3 separate regions of the Homo sapiens genome follow, and regions 2 and 3 are each linked to region 1. The links are contacts of gene promoters, found by promoter capture Hi-C in human tissues and cell types (Jung and others, 2019). All regions are on one chromosome and are shown on one strand. Each heading gives the region's core, a stretch centred on a gene start or on the middle of the fragment in contact. The rest is flanking DNA. Distances are from core to core; before and after follow the strand shown. Region 1 holds the start of EYA2 (EYA transcriptional coactivator and phosphatase 2). Region 2 overlaps EYA2 (EYA transcriptional coactivator and phosphatase 2). Region 3 overlaps EYA2 (EYA transcriptional coactivator and phosphatase 2).

What was found. Contacts are between HindIII fragments. The study calls those that stand out against the background at their distance.
Region 2: a fragment that was not itself captured here is called in contact with the fragment with the promoter of EYA2 in region 1 in 3 of the 25 tissues and cell types used here (IMR-90 fibroblasts, liver and stomach).
Region 3: a fragment that was not itself captured here is called in contact with the fragment with the promoter of EYA2 in region 1 in 2 of the 25 tissues and cell types used here (H1 embryonic stem cells and bladder).

What each region holds. Positions count from the first base shown.
Region 1 is chr20:46,892,708-46,896,972 of GRCh38, forward strand. It overlaps EYA2 (EYA transcriptional coactivator and phosphatase 2), which reads left to right and starts at 2,136. Exons shown (of 16, transcript NM_005244.5): 1 at 2,136-2,280. The HindIII fragment of the contact is 22,949 bases long and covers 1-4,265 here.
Region 2 is chr20:46,999,456-47,003,720 of GRCh38, forward strand. EYA2 (EYA transcriptional coactivator and phosphatase 2) reads left to right here. Exons shown (of 16, transcript NM_005244.5): 3 at 1,973-2,018. Among named protein-coding and RNA genes, the nearest start is that of EYA2-AS1, 100 kb to the left of the region's middle. The HindIII fragment of the contact is 6,946 bases long and covers 1-4,265 here.
Region 3 is chr20:46,977,709-46,981,973 of GRCh38, forward strand. The region is part of intron 1 of EYA2 (EYA transcriptional coactivator and phosphatase 2); the gene reads left to right. Among named protein-coding and RNA genes, the nearest start is that of EYA2-AS1, 78 kb to the left of the region's middle. The HindIII fragment of the contact is 7,567 bases long and covers 1-4,265 here.

The sequences.
Region 1 (4,265 bases), core at 886-3,385:
AATAATATTTGTTGAGCAATTGCTAGTGCCAGCTGCAGTCATAGTAGAAAGTGTTTTATGAGCATGAGCTCCATGAATTTTCACAATAATAGTATAAGATGAGTACTGTTATTTTCACTTTAGTGATGAGAAAATCAAGGCCAAGTACATATGTACATTCTGCCTCTAGAAGACAGAAGCAGAGCCATCTCCAAGCCTACTGCGGCAGGCCCAGAGAAGAGAACAACCATGTTTACTGAATACATTTGCTTCTGTCTGAAGTTTGGGGAGTAGAAAGCGGAGTAAGCTATGACCAGAGGTGGGTCTGGGAATGGTGAGGCCTGATACATGTATAATTTGCAGCCCCTATTCAAGAAAAAGAGTACAAAATTATGAGTCCAAGATTAGATAAGAAAATGATTATTTCTTTAAATTAAGAAAAGAAATCACAACAAATTCAAATTTTAAGAAGCTGAAAATTACCACAAACATCACAAAATTCCCAACTCAACTTTCCTCCAAAATGCCAGCAGCCACCTGACACCACCCTACTCAAGGGCAAGTTGGGGGTGGGGAATCGGAGTGGAAAGACAGCGGTGTCTACGGCCTGCAGCCAAATGTCCAAAGCAAAGGACTTTTGTAAACTTTACATCAACAAGCCACCATCTGAACACTTTTCTAAGTCCCCTTAGAAAGGGGTCCAAGCAAGTCAGGGGCCCAAGAACTTAACCTTCATCAGCTCCTGTAAACTTACAACTGGAATTGAAGACTGTTACGGCTCAAGAGCAACGGCTTTGGAGTCAGCCAGGCCTGAATTTCATTCCTGGCTCAGCCACTTTCTGCCTTCTTTGAGCTTGGACCTGCTCATTTGTGAAATGAGTGTGCTGACAGCAGCTACCTTGGGGTCTCTCTTGGGGATTACATGAGATAAGGAAGAGTTGGGCATTGGATGAGCTTAAGGTTGCAAATAAAAATATAGGACCCCCGGTTACATTGGAATTTCGGAGACAAAAGAAATACTTTTTAAATATAAGTACGTACAACCAATCGCATAAGACATATACTGCAACTGATTCCTCGTTTCTCTGAAATTCAAATTCACCTGGGTGCCCTGTCTTTTACTGCACTTAAGAAATGACAGTGGTTGATATTGCTTTTGGATTGAAGCATCCTGGGTGTCCCACGGTGGAATTCATAGACATTAGAGAGTGGGTGACGGGCTAGGAAAGGCTGCATAGACTCCAATTAACACAGTTCATTGCCAGGGAGACTAAAAGGGGGGTGGCTATGAGAGGATGGAGTAAGTGGGGTGCCTTGATTTGGGCATGTAGGTGGAGGGGGCTATACCTCTCACTTTCACTAAACCAGTTAAGCTCTTGAGACCTCAGTTTCCTTAGCTGTAAAATGGGTGAAACATAGGGGAGACCCCTGAACCGTTCTCACCTAAATACCACACCAATGGCACTTCCTCATAATTCAGATGTCACCTCCTCAGAGAGGTCTTCCCTGACTGCTCTAGCTAAAATTACCGCCTCTCCTCCACTCCCCAACAGCAGATACATATATTATTTTTCTCCCTGTAACTCTAACTTTCTGAAACTGTCTTGCTTCTTTACTTGGTTATTTGTTTATGGTTTGCCTCTCCATGTGAATGCAAGTTCCGGGAGGGCAGAAAACTAGTCTGTCTTGTTCTAGCTGAGTCTCTCAGGAGTGGTACCTGGCACAGTAGATGCTCAATATATTTTGAATGAATGAATGGGTGGTTGAGTGAACGAATGTTAGTGTCACTATTGAGGTCCTCTCCGAGCCGTCGTTCCTTTCACAGGGGTCATGCCTGGGTTGCAGGGAGGATGTGCTGCCCCGGGGAGGGAGGAGGTGCGGGGTGTCGGTGGGTGGGGAGGAGGCTGGGCCCTGGCCTCCAGGACCGGCGAGAGTGAGCGCGCTCTGCTCGGCTGCAGGCTCAGGAAGCGGCGCGGCGGCACGTGCTGGGCCAGAGCCCCGCGCCCTGCGTCCAGCCGCCGGGTGTGTGCGCCCGCGTAGCCCAGCGTCGCGCCTCGGCGCCCCCACGCGCCCACGCAGCGGCGCGGGGACCCGGGCGGGGGCAGAGGGAGGGCCCGGCCCAGGGAGGAGAAGGGGCCGGTCCTCCCGGCGCAGGCAGCAGCCGCGGCAGCCCAGGAGGCGGAGGCAGCGGCAACGGCAGAGACAGCAACGTGCCCGCCGCAGTCAGCCCGGCCTCGTCGGACCCGCACCGGCCCGCCCGCCCGCCCGCACCGCGTCGGGGCGCCCTCTCCACTGCGCGCGGTGAGTACCGCCAGCGGCGCCCACCCCAGGCCGCCCGCCGGGATTCGCCGGGCGGGGGGAGTTGTTCACCGGGACCCCCTCGCCCTGCGCCTCTTTCTGGCACTCGCCAAGCGGGGCCTCCGCAGCTGTCGGGACGTTCTGGGGCGCACGGGCCTCCCAGGGCCAGGAAGGCACAAGGGCAGAGGGGACAGCAGCAGAGCCCCCCTCTGGAAAGGCTCTCCCAGGCTCGGGGCCCCAGTTTCCCCATGCGCTTTGGGGCAACGACCCTGAAGTTTGCTCTCCCGCGCGCGGGACAAGTGCATGGCGCGCAGGCGGTGTAGACGCGGCTGGGTCCTTGGCGTTTTGTTCGATTATGGTCCCGGCGGTTCGCGATAAGGGGCGCTCCCCCAGTCCGCAAACTCAAGCCCTCAGGTAGTGTTTATGGGATAACCAAGAAGCAGAGCCAACCGCTGGAATCCCGGCTTGGGGCTGGAACGGCCCGCTGAGACTTTGCCTTCTAGCTATTGATATATTTCTTTTCAAAAGTCCGTTTGCGCTCGGCCCGCTCTGGTTCAGGTCTGGGGCTTTGAACCGGGGCAGGGAATCCTGGCGCCTGCTGCGGGTAGAGTTGAAACTTAGAAAAGTTTACATCCGAAGGGTGTTTAGAAGGCGGCAAGGATTTCGTTGTAATGGGAGAAAGTGGGAAATGGAATTGTTTTTTAGTCATGAAGTCTGGAGGTTAAACGGCCGTGCTGGCCCAGGCTCCTTCAATATATTCCTGCCTGCCTCCCCCCCAGCAATAAATAGTTTATAAGCTCAAGGAATACTAGGAAAGCGTGACTGGTGAACGTACTCCTATCGCAAAAGACTCAGTGCGCTTTTCTCAGCTGTTGAACTGGAAGCGCCTTTTGCAGTGCGAGGTTCCTGCTTCCCCGAAGCCGAGGCTGAGAGTTGACAGCGTGCACCCTGCCGCGGTCTGAATTCTTTTTAAAAAGCAAGACCGATGCTGCGTTTTTATGGATACCCTTTTCTTTTCTTTCCCCTTCCCCGAAATGCTATGTAATCTTCAATTACTTTTTAAAATATAACGTGGAGGTATAAATCACCCCGGTAAGAGGTACCTTTTAATTACGAGGTGCAGTGGAAGAGCTGAACATTGGAATCTAGCTGTTAGCGAGGGCGGAGGGGCAGGAGGATGATTTACAAACATCATGTAAGAATTTGAGCACTGAATTATGTTTGAGTTAGGGAGATCCCTTACAAAGGAAATTATAACCAGTGGACAATTGTATTTCAAACCGAATCTATTAATTTCATGAGCCGTTTCTTGATTGAGTGAAATGTCTGTGACCATAATAGATACAGAACTAGTAAGCACCTTACCAGACTATGACCCATTTGTTAGCAACTAACATACACATGTAACCATCCTGCTTACAAAAAAAAAAAGAGGTACACAAAGAAAGAGTGGGAGGAGAGAACCTCTTTTTCAAAATAATCTTTGTGAAAGAATCTTTCACAATTTTACTCGATAAATAAATGTTCATTTTTTCCACTTGTCTTTCTTCATCACCTTAAGCCCCTTCATCCTTTACATATCTTTGCATTTAGACACTCTCACACTTGGGTAAGTTCTTCTATAATTTATATAACAAATAACAAATGATAGTGGTTTGAATCTTGCTTTTGACTAAGCATTAAATTGTGTTTGTATTAAAAAAAATCTCCTTGCCTTCGTAGCAAACTCTTAACTTTTGCCATTGTGAAAAGACCAATGTGGTTAGATGCAAAAGAGCCTGAACTTTTTTTTACTTTAAAGCAGTTTATATGTCCCCATTCTCTTGTAACTTCAGCTTCACAATATCATTCACTATTTTATCTGAAAGGAATTGGCATTTTTCTTTTCTGTCTTAAAATAGCTCACCTGGTGTTGTGACCATGTGTATGAGAATACTCTATAAACACACAAATCACTTCCCCAATATCAGAAAAACTAAAGGAAATAT
Region 2 (4,265 bases), core at 564-3,063, 110 kb after region 1:
TCTTTGAATGTGATACATGATGCGAAATATATTTCTGCATTGTTGAATGCACGTGCATGCACACACAACACATTCTCACACCTGGACCTGCAACAAAAGGGTTACACAATTCCTTCTTACTATGGGCAATACCTGCTGCCATCGTATATCATAAAATAGGCAATTCTCCTTTTCTTAATTCCAGTTATGACTCTCTAAATGAACTTCAAGACCACCACCCCCGCCCCAACCCCAGTGGTTTGGGACTTGAACAGAATTTGGCTCAGCCAGGGGGAGGGCATTAAGAGTGTTGACCTTGGACTCACACAGCTTTTGGGTTCAAGTCCCAGTTCCCTTGCCCACGGTTGTGTGACTTGAACAAGGCACTTGACCTTCGGAGCCCCGGTTTCTTCATCTGTACAACGGGGTTAATGGCATCGCGTGCTCAGAGCGCTGTTGTGAGGACTCAATGAGAGCCTGTCTATAAGCAGTTAACAAGGGCCTGGCACATAGTCAACCTCTAAGTGAATGCCAGCTGCTCTTATGACAATGACTGTCATCGTCAGCTGTAGTGTCATGGTTGAGAAGACAGACTCTGGAGCCAGACCACCTGGGTTCAGATCACAGATCCACACCGTACTTCCTGTGTGGCCCTGGGTGAGTTACTTAAGCTCTCTGTGCCTACAGCTGTTCATCTGAGGATGAGAATAGAACCTTTCTCACAGGGTACTTATGAGGATTAAAATAATTAATCCAGGTAAAGAATTTAGAAGAGAGCTTGGCACGTAATAAGCACTGGGTAAATGATGGCTATCAGCATCATCTCATTTAATCCTTTCCTGTCCTTGCAAGATAAGTATTTTCATCCTCATTGCACAGGGGGGAGCCCTGAGGCCCAGAGATCTAGGAACTTGCCTGAAGTCTCATAACTAGGAAGTGGCAGAGTTGCAAGTGCACGTTGGTCTCCTGAGCCTCCAGCGCAGAGGCTGAGGCAGGCTCAGAGCTCCACAGCCTTAGGTTGTGATGATGACGCAGCCACTGCCCTACAGAACAGGGAGTGGGCATTGGCAGGTTGACGCTGTTCCCATCAGTAGACACATTATCTAGAATTTGTCCAGGACTCTGCAGTGAGGACATTGAGTTGCATTGTTCAAGATGACGGAGCACAAAAGTACTTCCCAGTGAACTGTCCCTATGTAAAATTATCCCCGGGCAAACGTCTCTCCCAGCTTAACTCTGTCACCTTTTCGTCACCCCCTGCATATCGCCTCCCATCAATGATTGGACATTGTGTGCTGAGTGATTGGGTGTTAGGTACTTGCATCAGGAGCCCAGGTGTCATCCATCTCTCTGCTCCACCACCCTAGATGGAGCTTAGGAGATGATCGAAGTGGTTCCTTCCCCTAAAGTGTTGGGGCCAGCTGCACCTGCACTCCATGGACTGGAAGTGAGGAGGCAGGGGAGGAACATCAAAGCCATGTCATTAGAAGAAGGGAAATGGAGGTTGGATGAGCAAAGCCAGCCTGTGTCTGCCATTCTGGGGTTCTTGGGGATTGCTTTTGAGGCAGGGAAGGGAGCGGTTTTCCATCCAGGAGTGGAAATGGCACCAGCTTGATTCACTTCCTAGTTGTGCTGCTGCCTGGTCATGTGACTTGGCTCAAGCACATTCTTTCTGTCTCTTTGGCCTCAGTTTCTCCATCTGTACAATGGATGGAGAAATGGACTCTACTCTGATGTTTCAAGGTGCTATGGATTCTTTAGATGTCATTTTTCCTTAACTGCACAGAGACGAAGTGCACCCAGAAAGGGCTCCGAACTCCTCAAGAAGAAGAGTGCTGAGATGTGGCGCCTCAGATAAGCATCTGTGGTGGAGAAAGCCGCGGGCAGCACCCCTCCAAGTCTGCTCCTGCTTAAGTGGTGTCTGAAGTCACCACCTCTGCAGAACATCACCCTAATCGCTAAAACTCTTCCAATTTTTCTTTTTCTCCTGCAGGCATCACCAAATCGGCCCCCCTGAGAGTGTCCCAGCTCTTCTCCAGGTGAGTGCCATTCACTTGTCTCCTGCTCACATGCCCACCTTTTCTTCTTTCTTGGAAGGTAGAGGTTAAGAGAGAGGGCCCTGGAGCCAGATTCCCTGGATAGGAATCCCAGCCGTAGCACTTCCTAGCTGAGTGAGCTTGAGCAAGTCACTCCACCTCCCTGGGCCTGAGCCCTCCCATCTGGGAGCGGGGGACAGTCATGCTGCCTGCCCCCACGAAACCAGCAAAAGCAGGTAAAACACACTTAGAATGGGGCCTGGAGCAGAGTGTCCTCAGAGTCTTAGCTATTATTTTCTTCTTTCTTCTCTTCATTCTTTTTTTTTTTTTTATTCTTTTCTTTCTCCCCTTCCTCTGCTTTCCCATGCATAGGGAATTTCTTAATTTTTCCCTCCCTTTTTGCCACTGTCTTTCTTTCTCCTTTCCTCATTCCTTTCCTTTCCCTTCTTTTCAATCTCCCTTCTATTTTTTTTTTCTCCGAGACAGAGTCTTGCTCTGTCACCCAGGCTGGAGTGCAGTGGCGTGATCTCAGCTCACTGCAACCTCTGCCTCCCAGGTTCAAGTAATTCTGCCTCAGCCTCCCAAGTAGCTGGGATTACAGGCTCCCTTCTTTCTATCCTTATTTTTCTCTCCCTTTTTCTCTTTCCCTTCCTCTCTTCCCTCCCCTTTCGTCCCCCATCCTTTTCTCTCCACCTCTCTCTCCCTTTTCCCCTCCCTCCTTTCATCATTTCTTTACTTTATTTTAAGTTCCAGTATACACATGCAGAACATGCAGGTTTGTTACATAGGTAAACATGTGCCATGGTGGTTTGCTGCACCTGTCAACCCATCACCTAGGTATTAAATTCGACATGCATTAGCTATTCTTCCTGATGCTCTCCCTCTCCCCTACCCTTCCCTAACAGGCCACAGTGTGTGTTGTACCCCTCCCTGTGTCCATGTGTTCTCATTGTTCAGCTCTCACTTGTAAGTGAGAACATGCAGTGTTTGGTTTTCTGTTCCTGCATTAGTTTGCTGAGGATAAGGGTTTCCAGCTTCATCTGTATCCCTGCAAAGGACATGATCTTGTTCCTTTTTATGGCTGCATAGTATTCTATGGTGTATCTGTACCACAATTTCTTTACCCAGTCTATCATTGATGGGCATTTGGGATGATTCCATGTCTTGGCTGTTGTAAATTGTGCTGCAATGAACATATGCGTGCATGCATCCTTTCTTCCTCCTCTACCATTCACACATCACTCCTCAGTACCTAACCCCACACTGAGCCCTAGAAACTCAGAGATGGATGAGATGCAGTCTCTGCCCCCGGAGAGCTAGTCCATATTGATGGATGAGACACCTTCCAGGACTGGGGCTGACATCTCCAGCTCAAATGAGTTTCTTATGCATTTTGCAGCAGGTTCCCCCAAATAACCCTTTATCGTGGCAGTAGTCTAAAAGAAAGAAGGGCATAGGGACATCTGTTTATAATTCCATAAACTTTTGCATTCACCTGCTGTGAGGCCTCAGGTGGAAGAGGAACTCTGGAAGCAAACAGGCTTTAGCAAAAGTGATGTAACCAAAATGGAATCAGATACAGATTGGGGAATCTCATCAACATTTACCTGTACGCTTAACCCAGTTGTGACAGTTAGAAACATGATAGTTGTGGTGTCTGGGGGAGGGTGGCATAGTGGAGGGGTTGAGGGTGTGGCCTCTGGAGCCAGGGTTCAAATTCTCTATCTGCTGTATGCTTGTGGCGTGTTATTAAGTCTCTCTCTGCCTCTGTTTTCTTACCTGTAAAATGGGGATAGAAACAAAAATTACCTCCAAGGCTTATCACAGTTGTGGTGGAGTTTAAATGAGCCAATTCACATGAAGTAAATAGGACAGTGCCTGGCACGTAGGCATGAGAATTGACTACCTTTACCACTAAGGGAAGTGGCCCTTGTAGGCATTGTTGCAGACAGGATGTGATTCGGTCTCAAGAGGTGGCTGCTGCTCAAATCCAGCTGATAGCACCACACAGGCGTGCAGACCCAGGTACGCTGAAGCACCTGCTTTTCAGGAGAAGGAAGACAAAGCGAGTGTGTTTATGTGCATGCCTGCATGTGTGTGTGTATCTGTGCACGTAACCTCCTGGTTTTCAAATTTTAACAACAATTTCAAATTAGGAAAAAAAATAACTTCACTGGTCAAAGAAATTATATCCATGGATCTGTGGATTGGATGTGGCCCCTGGGCCACCATTTTGCTCCCTTTGTGTTA
Region 3 (4,265 bases), core at 1,109-3,608, 85 kb after region 1:
TAGCCTTTGCAAAGGAAACTGAATTTGCCTTATTTATCTGGGGAGATGATTCCCAACACATTGCAGCCCTGCCCCACAACTTCTATTCAATGACACTTCCCCATGTTAAGGGAGACAGGGTAGGGGAGGATGGAGGTGTGGACAGGAGGAGGGATTTGTGATCACTTCCTTGTGGCTTGTGGAGTTCTTCCCCAAAGTTGTTGAAGTGACAACAGCACCTGAATTTCACTGGCTGGACCCACAGCTGATTCCTACTCTAATTTTTCACACTGAACACCTGGGGCGTGATATACCTGTATCAAAACAAAAGGCAGTCTGCAGTCCCGCAGGCAAGGGTCTGCCCACGGCTCCAGGTAGGCATCTTCCAGGGCTTGTGTGCAGCAGGAGAGAACGTCTCTTCTCCAGCAGTTCATCTTGGGCCTCCCGTTGGCCCCAGGTGGCTCACGTGACCACCACCCTGGAGCCAATCACTGTAGACCGAGGAATGGGAGATGCTAATTGCCAGGCTCAGAGCTTGTTAGTAGGGTCAGTCCCAGCCAAGCCACGTGGACTGAGAGTCATGGGGAGACCTAGGGAAATTAAATAACTCACAAACACCTGTAAAAACTGTTACAGTGACTGGTGTGTGTGATAGAGGGCCATGGGCCTGTGAAAGCTGCAGGAGGGAAATCGCTTACTCAGGGAGAGCCTGGGGAAATCCTGCCGGAACTGAGGCCTCTGCAGGGTGAGCAGGAGGGACTGGAGTTCCAGGCAGAGGGAACAGCATGTACAAAGGCCCTGTGGCAAGAGGGAGTGTGGAGCGAGAGAAAGGCCAGCGTGCTGGAATCAGATATTGGACAAGGAGAAGCCAGATCAAGGCTGTGTTCGGAACTCTTTGCTTTATCTTAAGAGCAATGGAAAGCCGTCAGAGGTTATAAGCAAGGATGAGGTGAGGCGGGCAGGTTCAGATTTATGCTGTCATTTGCTGCACAGAGAACAAACTGGAGGGAGGCCCCGGTGGCCCCAGGGAGGTGGGCAGGGGGGCTGCCGTGGTCTTCCTGGGCAGAGAGGATGGTGGCTTGGACCTGGGCGATGGCCATGGAGGTGAACTTTATAAGGCCTGGAGATGGATTGGACGTGAGCATTGAAGGAGAGGGAGAAGTAAGAGCAATCCTGAGCTTTTGGTTTGAGCAACTGCCCCCGAAATGGGGGAAGCCAAGATGGTTTGTGATTCACAGATGTATTTTGAATGGAAATTGAATGAGGCTGGTGGAGGCTGTCAGAGACGTCCAGGTTTGGGCCACAGCTGCTGTCTGTCCAGAAGCCTGTGATTGAAGTCAGCAGGCTTTGATTTCTCAGCCCGTGAAGGATGCTGGGAGTGACCCTCTCCAAAGTCCCCTTAGCCGACTGGCCATCTGTCCTCTGCATCTGACAGACAGGGCCACCATCCTCAGCCAAGGTAGCTGGTGTACTCACGGGGGTGTGGAAAGGTGAGCGGCCCACCCGCCTGGGACCCTCCATCTGCTTTTGATCCCTCCCAGCCTTTGAAGCTGCCCCTGCCCCCACCCTCCAGCTGTCATCTCTCGGGCTCCCCCACTTCTTCCCAGTCCCCAGGGACAGGGGTGGTGACAAGGGTAACAAATGGCACAAGCCGCAGGCAGCAGCAGGCCAAGGGGGCCAGAGGGAGGGTGTTCCTGAATGCCTCTTTCTTCCCGCTCCTTCAGGCTGTCTTCTGAAGTAGCCAGGCTATCAGGGTTTTGCAACAATGCAACAAAGAAAGAATTTTTTTTTTTTGTAAATGAATTCCATGCTTTTCCTTCCTTTCCCTTCCCTGCCTTCGTGAAAGGGAAGCTAAGTCTTTCTCCTACCCCAGATTCCTTGAAGGCTGTCTGAGTTCTCTCTTCCTTCCCCTGCATAGAGAATAAGCTGGTCTCCAATTTCAGGTAATTGTGAGGTGGGGAAGAGTGGGGAGAATGTGAAGGAAGCCTTCCCCACCAAAGTGCAGCAGAGCTCAACTCTGCCCCTCAAACCACAATAGGAACCAGTGGTTTCCGGGTGATCCTGATGACAGTTTCCAGTGTCTACCTGGAATGAAACGAATGGTGTGTTTCAAGCCTTTGTCTGTGTGCATGCAAATAATCTCAGCTGCCCTTTGTTGAATACCCACTCACTCGTGCCTTCTCTGACTCATTTTTCTCAGAATAACCTGGCGGGGAGGGTATTATTTTCTCCATCTTATAGAACTGAGGCTCAGATAAGTGAAATAACTTGCCCAAGGTTACACCGCTGATAACGACATAGCTGGGATTTGAACCCCTGGAGCAGATAACACGTCTGGTGCTCTGACTGGGTAGCTTAGTAGACTTTAGAGCTGGATGGGCCCTGAGTTGAAATTGTGATCCAGAGCTATTTGCAAGCTGTGGTTAAGAGCACAGATCTGGAGCCAGATCACCTGGTTGAGAATCCTGACTCTACCACTGACTAGCCAGGTCAGTCTCTGAACCTGTCTCCTTATCTCTACCTACTTCATAGGATGAAACGAGCCAGTGCATGCAGAGAGATTTAAGCCTCAGCGTAAATGCTCTGTAACTGTGAGCTGTTTTTATTTCTAGTATCTGTAAACTAAGCAATATAATTAGGGCCAGGTTAAGACCTTTAGCAGCCTCAAACACCAGAGACTGGCCTCTCTCCTCCATTGTCTCCTCCAATACAATAATAAAACGGTGTGGTTCGTAAGACAAAAAACTCGCTGTGCTGAAATTTTTTTTACAATTTTGTTTAGTTTTGTTTTTTATTGATACATAATAGATGGACATATTTTCAGGGTGCATGTGACTGTTTGATACGTTCATATAATGTATACAGATCAAATCAGCATAATTGGGATTTCATCCCCTTAGATATGTATCTTTTCTTTATGTTAGCATCATTCAAATTACTCTATACTCTGGCTATTTTGAATGTGTGATAAACTATTGTTAATTATAGTCACCGTACTGTTCTATTGAACACTAGCTCTTATTCCTTCTAACTGTATATTTGTACCCATTAATCAACCTCTCTTCATCCTCCCCACCACCCTTCCTGGCCTTCAGTAATCACAGTCTACTCTCTATCTTCATGAGATCTACTTTTTTAGCTCCCACATGTGATTGAGAACATGCCATATTTGTCTTTCTGTCCTTGGCTTGTTTCACTTAACATAACGACCTCCAGTTCCATCCATGTTGCTGCAAATGACAGGATTTCATTGTTTTTTATGGCTGAATAATATTCTAGTGTATATGCATACCACATTTTCTTTATCCATCCATCAATTGGTGGAGTGCGCTGACATTTGAAAAGCTTCTTTTTAGATCCTCATGGCAGAACAGGATAAGTTCACCAAACAGGAATGATTTCACGTTTTCTTGGTGTCTAGACTTTGCTCAGACTTAAATCTGTGTTTAGTCGGCCTTTGAGGAAATACAGGACAGATCCTTCTATCTCCCAGCGTGGTTGAGAGAATTAAAAGAGATCATGTAAATGTGATCAGGAAAATTGCCTGGTGTATAATAGGTGCTTGGGAAATGAGAACCATGACTAGAATTTTTGGAAGGGTTTTACTAACTCTGGAAACTGAGTTGCCTTGAGTTGCTTGTTCACATTCCTATACTCTGTGGCTAATAGTTTGCTTCTGCAAGTCACCAGTGCCTGTAGCTGTAGCTGACAGCAGGAAAGAACAATTGTCAGGTTCTCAAGTCAGGGTCATGTTTACTTTGTGAAGATTAATATTTCTGTAGCTTTGGCTTTATTAGTGCTGTTCATTTATTTGCCTCCAAAGGATGGTGTGTTTTGATTGCTATAGGTATTTTAATTGCTATAGGTATTTTAGATTTTGCAGATCTAATTCTAGGTCTAACAGAGCCCTAGAATCAGTCAAGTCCCTTTCTTCATGCACATTAATTTTGGAAAAAATAAACTTTTAAATTATCATATATTGGTGGATTATTTTATCATTATTGTATGTCCCTGTAAATCTCTAATAATGGTTTTTATTTTAAAATCTATTTGGGGTATTGTGTTGTATTCATATTATTGAATCCTTGCTTTGAATCTTGGTATGTCTTTATATTTAAAAGGGGTCTCTTGTAATAAGCATGTAGTTAGGTTTTTAAAGTCAGTCTGGTGATCTTTGTCTTTCAAGTGTTGTATTTATTCTGTTTGCATTTACTGTAACTAATGTAATATAAACATACATGAAATGTTTACATTTATTATTATTCTTTAAGTGGTTATCCTAAATA